2 separate regions of the Homo sapiens genome follow, and region 2 is linked to region 1. The links are contacts of gene promoters, found by promoter capture Hi-C in blood cells and fetal thymus (Javierre and others, 2016). All regions are on one chromosome and are shown on one strand. The core of a region is centred on a gene start or on the middle of the fragment in contact, and the rest is flanking DNA. Distances in the headings are between cores, read along the strand shown.

What was found. The method cuts DNA at HindIII sites, captures the fragments that hold promoters and counts their contacts. A CHiCAGO score of 5 or more calls a contact.
Region 2: a contact is called between a fragment that was not itself captured here and the fragment with the promoter of DAGLA in region 1, in 1 of 17 cell types (endothelial precursors). The highest score is 5.2, in endothelial precursors.

What each region holds. Positions count from the first base shown.
Region 1 is chr11:61,678,988-61,682,572 of GRCh38, forward strand. DAGLA (diacylglycerol lipase alpha) reads left to right here and starts at 1,404. Exons shown (of 20, transcript NM_006133.3): 1 at 1,404-1,517. The HindIII fragment of the contact is 3,213 bases long and covers 1-2,309 here.
Region 2 is chr11:61,497,223-61,501,079 of GRCh38, forward strand. It overlaps LOC105369329 (a long non-coding RNA gene), which reads left to right. Exons shown (of 3, transcript NR_188527.1): 2 at 2,541-2,613. Among named protein-coding and RNA genes, the nearest start is that of MIR4488, 9.4 kb to the right of the region's middle. RefSeq lists a silencer at 1,941-2,141. The HindIII fragment of the contact is 2,023 bases long and covers 913-2,935 here.

The DNA.
Region 1 (3,585 bases), core at 154-2,653:
AGCCTTGAGGAATTCAACTCCTCCTTGAATCCCCTGAGGTGCCCCACTGGGTATATGCGCCCACTCCTCATTTTCCTTGTTACCTACGTGAGTTTGCTTTCTAAATAATCACAGGTAACACAGAACTCCTTCCAGAAGTGGCTCCATCTGCTTCAATAAAAGGCAGTCCTGGCCTCACAGTCTCATTTCCAACCCAAATGTCCACGTAATTTTCAGACCGAGGCTTCTGCTCAAGCCGGGCACCCCACTACCCACACCTCCTTGTTCACCTATGGCTCCCACTTCTACTGAACTGCGCGATCACTGTGATTTTGGGGGTGGCAACAGGGCCTAGGAAACATTTTAGAGGCACTTCTCTTGCCTGAAAGAAAACGTTCTTCCCCTTTTTGTCTCTGATGAATCTTTACTGGATCTTTGGGACCCAGCTGAGTCATCCCGACCTGCAGACTGGACTCCCATCCCCAGGCTTAAATTCCTTTCCAAGGGCTCTGTCTGTCCTCTCGGCTTAGCTTCTGTGTTAAAACCCCCTCCATCTGCGTCTCCTCCCCAGCAGAATGAGCTCCTTGAAGTCAGGGCCCGCCTTCTGCTCCTCTCTGTGCTCCACTCCCCCAGTTCAGCACAGTGCTCCCAGGGAGGTGTAAGCGACTTACGGTGAATGAAAGGGCGTGAAGGGGAACAGGAGGGGCGGTTTTCTTCATTTACCAGAAATTCAAAATTGACCAAGTAAACCCCTTTGGAGACCAGGCACGATGCTGGGCACTGGGAACGGGGGTAGGGGTGGGGGGTGGGGGGGTGGTAGGGAGGAGGGGGTACCCAGGGTACCCACGGGCTCTGTCGCCCGTGGGGAAGGATGGGCATTTACCCTTCCCATTCATCAGGATGGGAGGGCCACGGACTCCCCCCACGGCAGTGCCGGGTAGACCCCTGCACCACACCGTGCCAAGGCCCTTTCTCACAGTCACGCCAGGAACTCTAGCCATGCTCTGACTTCTCAAGCAGAGTTCAGTCACCCCGAGGAGGTGGGACCCGTCTCTCTCCTCCCCACAAATGAACCAGTTCTCCAGTGATCCTACTTCCTTTTTTCCCTCTCCCACGCTAAAACTGGTCACGAGGGACCTAAAGGAGGGGCAGGCACCCAGGCGGCTCCCTTCCCCGCACGCATCGCGGCCAGTCCAGCCCCTCCCGGCCGCCCACGGGACCCCAGCCGAGCCTGAGCCAGGCGCCCACCGCCCCCACGCGCAGGGCCGGCGCCCGCGGAAGACTCGGCTCTCCCTGGCCTCGACGCCGCTCCCCTCCCTGGCGCCAGGGGGCGCTGCCTCCCCACGACCGTCGCCATGGTCACCGCTGGCGGCGGAGAGGGGTTTACGTAAAGGACGCAGCGTCCCCCGGGGGGCGGAGGCGGCCTTCGCGCCGGCGCCGGCGCCCTGCGGAAGCGGCGTTAGTGAATCGGGGCCTTGGGGAGCCCAGGATGGAGGTGGCGGTCGCGGCGGCGGGCCGAGCCCTGCGGCGGGCGGGAGGTAAGGGGGGCCTCCGGCGCGGCGGGCCGGTCCTGGGCGCGGGCGCGGTGCGAGCGGCGCGGCGGGCTGGGCAGTGTCCAGGGCGCGCGGTGGCCGGCCCGACGGGTCGGCGGGCGGAGTTGCAGCTGCCACGCGCGCCCGTGGCAGGTGTGAGGTCTGTGGAGCCCCTGGCACCAGCGTGGGGATGGTGACACGCGTGGCACGGGCGTGGGCAACGTGGGTCCGGCACAGGCGGCGTGGTTTTCCTGGAACGGGTCTCAGAAGACTCGCCTCCACCTTGGTGCGGTGGTGGCCACGCAGGTGTGAGGTGGTGCAGCTGTCTGCACAGGTAGGTGATGGGCACGGCCTTCGGACTGGTTATGGGATAGGTGGCCAGCTCGTGCCGGCATGGTGGTGCCGCTAGCATGGGTGTGAGGAAGTGCTGCCATTGCTTGGGTGTTGGGATGGTTCTGGCCTTGGGCTTGACATGATCTGGGGTGATAGCACTGGGGGCTTGAAGAATTGGTGTTCTCAGCATGGCTAGAGTTCCTGGCATGACTGTGAGAAAGGGCCTTGGCACGGTGTGGTGCGGGGGGCTACCCGGCACTGCCGCGGGGGGAGTCCGTGGCCCTCCCATCCTGATGAATGGGAAGGGTAAATGCCCATCCTTCCTCACGGGCGATGAAGGGGACACTGCCTCTGTCATGGGGGTCCAGTTTTAATGCCTGTTGGGTACACTGGACTGAGGAGGGCAGAAGGCTGGGAGAAGGTTGGTGTCCTTTATAATGGGCATAAACAAGAGATGCCAGGAGAAGCTTCTACCACAAGGGCCCTGATGGTAACCCAGATAGAGACCTTCCAGGCACTACCGTTGTCCTGGGCTAAGGTAGAGAGAACCATTCATCTAGCTTTTCATCTAGCTTTGGGAATGAAGGGAGGGGTGGATGATTTTCAGTGGTGATCGGTGTCCCAGAATATGTCCTGAGAAGCAAGCAGGACCAAGAGGTAACCCGGGTCAGCGAGTGAGGGAGTGGTATGGCGCACCATCTATCTGTAGTCACGGGGTCCTGCCTTCTCCCTGGGTTGATGGGTTCACTCCAGGGTATCTGGGAGTTGCCTCTCTTCTTTGATGCTGGGGAGCCTTTGGGTCCAGAGGATTGGATCGATTGGGGTATGCTTGAAAGATGATTCTGCAGCCACTGGGAATCTGCTGGGGCCACCGGGACTCCCACCCCCAGGCTTAAATTCCTTTCCAAGGGCTCTGTCTGTCCTCTCTGCTTAGCTCCTATGTTAAAACCCCTCCATCTGCGCTGAGATTGTGTTTGCTCTCACCAGTCCTTTGGGAAGCTTTGGGTGAAGGTCTCACTCAGCATCACCTAGTGCCTTACTTTACAGAGAAGCAATTTGCAGCTCCTCCTAGAGAAGTCTTACAGTGTAGGGGAAATCTTCAGTTCTTTGTGGATCTCTTGGGGGAGTGGGATCAGTGGTAGAAGAATCACAGGGTTGAGCTTGTGCTGGGGAAGGCACTTATGAGTCCAAAAAGATGATGTTGAGGGTAGGGTGGCAGGTGGTCGCCAAATTGCCAAGGTGGGTGCTTGGAGATGCTGATGAGTTCCCTATAACCGGAGCACTGTCCGATGCCTTTGGAGCCATATCACTTTAATTCCAGTGTTGGCTGTGTGACCTTCAGCAGGTGACTTCACCAATCAAGGCATGTCACATGGTGGTCTGGTAGTAAAGAATGAAAGGAAATGGTGCACGTGGAAACACTTTGCAAACAGCGAAAGACTGTACAAAGGTCAGAGAGTCTCATCAAGTAAAGAGACCAGGGCTGGAGGCAGGAGCCATAGGAAATGGTGGCACGGGATGTGATTGGGAGGAAGGGAGCCGGAAGGTTGAGGGCCTGTCATAGGGAATTAGAGGCCCTGAGCGCACATGCTCCCGGTGGGGGCAAGTGGGATCTGTTGACACTGTGAGTCAGCTGCTGAGCTGGAACCAGGCCCCCGGTCTCCAGAGGACAGTCCTGAGCATGGCCCCGGCAGCTGTGAAGTCCTGCAGGAGTGGCCCAAGCAGGAGGAAGCACTTTGCT
Region 2 (3,857 bases), core at 674-3,173, 180 kb before region 1:
GTCTATGTGTGTAAGTGTATATGTGTGGGTATGTGTTAAGTGTGTGGGATATGAGTGTATGAGTGTGTGATTATGAGTGTGTGAGAGTGTATGCGTGTGTATTTTGTGAATGTGTTTGTGGGTGTGAGTATACGTTAGTGTGAGTATATAAGTGTGTATGAGTGTGAATATGAGACAGTATATGTGTGTATATATGTGTGAGTGTATGTGTGTGTGTGGGTGTGAGTGTGTTAGAGTGTGCGTATATGAATGTGTGTGAATATGAGTGTGAGTGTATATAGGTGAGTGTGAGTGTGAGTGTATGTGTGTGGGAGTGGGAGTGTATGAGTGTGTGTATGTGTGTGAAGATGATTGTGTGTATTTGTGTATGTGTGTCTGCGTGTGTGGGTATATGAGTGTGTTAGTGTGTGTATGTGAGTGTGTGTGTAGATGTGTGGGTGTGTGTTAGAGCGTGTGGGTATGAGTGTATGTGTGTATGTGTGTGTGTAGATGTGTGTGAGTATATCTGGGTGTAAATGTGTGTGTGTTAGAGTGAGTGTATGAGTGTGTATGAGTGTGAATATGAGTGTGTGTGAGTGTATATATGTGTGAGTGTATGTGTGTGGGTGTGAGTGTATGAGTGTGAGAGTGTGATTCAGGTTGGAGAGCCTGTGTGTGTGTGTCTTTAGAGTCCCCAGTTAAAGGGCCAGGGCAGGAAGGTGTGTGTGTCGCTCACCTGGCCTAAGCTTGGGTGAGATGCTGAAGGCGCTGTGCTCAGAAAAGGCTATATGAGCCCCTGGGCCAAGCAGCCTCCTATGGAGCCTGATGACAAGGTTGTGGTCCCTACGGTCAGACGGCCTTGGCGCAGAGCCATGCTCTCCTGGTGGGCTCTGGCACTGGGGGCGGTGGGCTGGCATTGAAGAACATGGGCAAAGCTTCTCCTGAGCACAGAACAGCATTTGACAGTGTGGGGCTTCTGGGAGGACAGTGCAAGCAGGGGCAGAGGGAGAATGATCACGCGACTCCCTGAGTGGTCACAGGCTGATGAGGTCTGACGATGGAGGCTGTCAGTCAGAGTTCATCACAAGCAACAAAAACCACAGCTGGCTAATTTAAGCAGAAAAGGAATTTCTTAAAAGGACTTGGTCACTCACAGAATCTTCAGGTGGACCTGAGAATAAAACTTAGAGCCCGGCCGGTCGTGGTGGCTCACGCCTGTACTCCCAGCACTTTGGAAGGCCGAGGCCGGCGGATCACCTGAGATCAGGACTCCGAGCCAGCCTGACCAACATGGAGAAACCCCGTCTCTACTAAAAATACAAAAATTAGCCGGGTCCGTGGTAGCAGGCGCCTGTAATCCCAGCTACTCAGGAGGCTGAGGCAGGAGAATCGCTTGAACCCAGGAGGTGGAGGTTGAGGTGAGCCGAGATGGCGCCATTGCACTCCAGCCTGGGCAACAAGAGCAAAACTCCATCTCAAAAAAGAAAAAGAAAAAAAAAAACCAAAAAACTTAGAGCCCACCCAGCCAGGAAGCACAAAGAAAATCGCCCCATGGCCCTGGGACCACAAAGACCCCAGGCCTCCCCACCGCTGCTCCTGGGACACAGCCCCTGCTGCCGCTCCTCACACCGCCCTCAGGAGGGATCTGAGTGATCCCTTCTGCTCAGCAGTTCTCATTTCCTATTCAGAATCTGACGTGGGTGTACTTGGGGGCGACTTCCGGGTCACAGGCTTCCACCTCGCTTGCAAGGGATGCCGGGAAAGTGAGCTCCCAGCGTTTTCAGCTGCCTTGGGAGGAGAGTGGGCTCTGTTTTGTAAGGCAGGTGGATTCTCCAACATAGCCAGGGGCTACAGATGCTGGGAGGCCCAAAGAAATCAAATGTCCTTCCCACGTGAGTTACCATCACTAAGAAGGGCATTTGTGGGGTACCTTCTGTAAGCGGGGTGCTCTCGGTGCTTTTACACACCTAGGGAGTTTGCTGTTGGCCTGCGAAGACCCTTTATGGGACATGGATCAAAAGTGCTGTTCCTCGAGATACTTACCTCCAGTATAGGATCCTGGTGTCAAAAGGAATCAGATACGGCTCCATTGTACATGGCATGACTTGTATAGCCAGACAGAGCAGGTATATGTGAGTATGGACTTCATAAGCAATACTCAAGACCTCAAAAGTGTATCTTGGGGCCGGGCGTGGTGGCTCACACCTGTAATCCCAGCACTTCAGATGGCAGAGGCGGGTGGATCACCTAAGGTCAGGAGTTTGAGACCAACCTGGCCAACATGGCAAAACCCTGTCTCTACTAAAAATACAAAAATTAGCCGGACATGGTGGCACACACCTGTAATCCTAGCTACTTGGGAGGCCCAGGCAGGAGAATACTTGAAGCCGGGAGGTGGAGGTTGCAGTGAGCCGAGATTGCGCCATTGCTCTCTAGCCTGGGTGACCAAAAAAAAAAAAAAAAAAAAAAGTGTATCTTGGTCTATCAGTAACAACTGGATTTAGCAAAGATGTGGACTTCCCCAGCCTAATCTCTCGGCTACACCCATGTCTGTCTTGCAGGTGTGGAAACTTCTGGATGCCTGCTCTTGTGAGTTCACCTCTATGTCTACTCTACTGAGGCCTCTCCATACAGGTAGAGTGACTTGTGGGAGGCCTGTTACATCCTCAGGCCACACCTGGTAAGGGAAGCGCAGGTGGGTCCCACCTGCCCTGGTGCCCCCCTCAGGATACCTGGGGGTATATACTTTTTCTCATGCCACCCCCAGGCTCTGCCCAGATGGGGCTGACGACTGGTTTTTGGGCTGGCATCCGTGTTTCCGGGCGCTGCTTGCCCGTTCTCTCCCACCTGCCGGTTGAACCTTAATCTCCTTTTGGGTGCTATCTTCTGCGATGACGCATCCTTCCCCTCTCCAGGGCTTATGGCATCAGCTCTCTGCTCTCGAAGTTCAAAGCCAAGCTTTTTTGGACCTACACAAAAGATTTCTCTTTCAAAACTGGTTGTTGTAAGGGTATAGTCTCAGCTCTGGGTTTCAAAGCCTCTTTTGCAACTCAAAGCCAAGGATTTGACTCTTTGTTCTGAGTTTCCCTGGAGAGCAGGGAATATAGGAAACCAACTTAGCATATGAATGCAAGTCAATGGATATAAGGAAATTGTCTACAGTGGAATAAGTTAGTATCTCAAAATGACAGCATTCAGCTCCCATACACTGTCACTGACGCTTTGTGATAATCCTTTGAGAAAGGGTGATTTTGCCCGATCCAGAGCTGAGACTAGGGTGAGGGGGGGCAAGGCACTTGCTCTAGACACCATATTTAAAGAAGTGCCAAAAAAACCCACCTCCATAATTAAGTAATAGTTTGATGCAATCATTGTAAAAGTAAAAATTATTGCCAAAAATCCATGATGAAAAAAAATCAAAATTTTAAACGAAGATGAGATTCGTGTTACTGATTTTTCCTTTGCTCGAAGGTTCCAATAATGGCTCCACACAGCACTGGCACTTGGCACTGATCTGTTTTTTTTTTCCTTTTTTTTTGAGACAGAGTCTCACTCTGTCACCCAGGCTGGAGTGCAATGGCACAATCTCAGCTCACTGCAACCTCCACCTCCTGGGTTCAAGCGATTCTCCTGCCTCAGCCTCCCGAGTAGCTGGGATTACAGGTGCACACCACCAAGGCTGACTAATTTTTGTATTTTTAGTAGAGACGGGGTTTCACCATGTTGGCCAGGCTGGTTTCGAACTCCTGACCTTATGATCCACCCGCCTTGGCCTCCCAAAGTGCTGGGATTACAGGCGTGAGCCACCGCGCCTGGCCCTCTGATCTGGTCTTCATGGAGCTCACATCCTAGTCCATCGGAAACAGACTTCAAGCAAA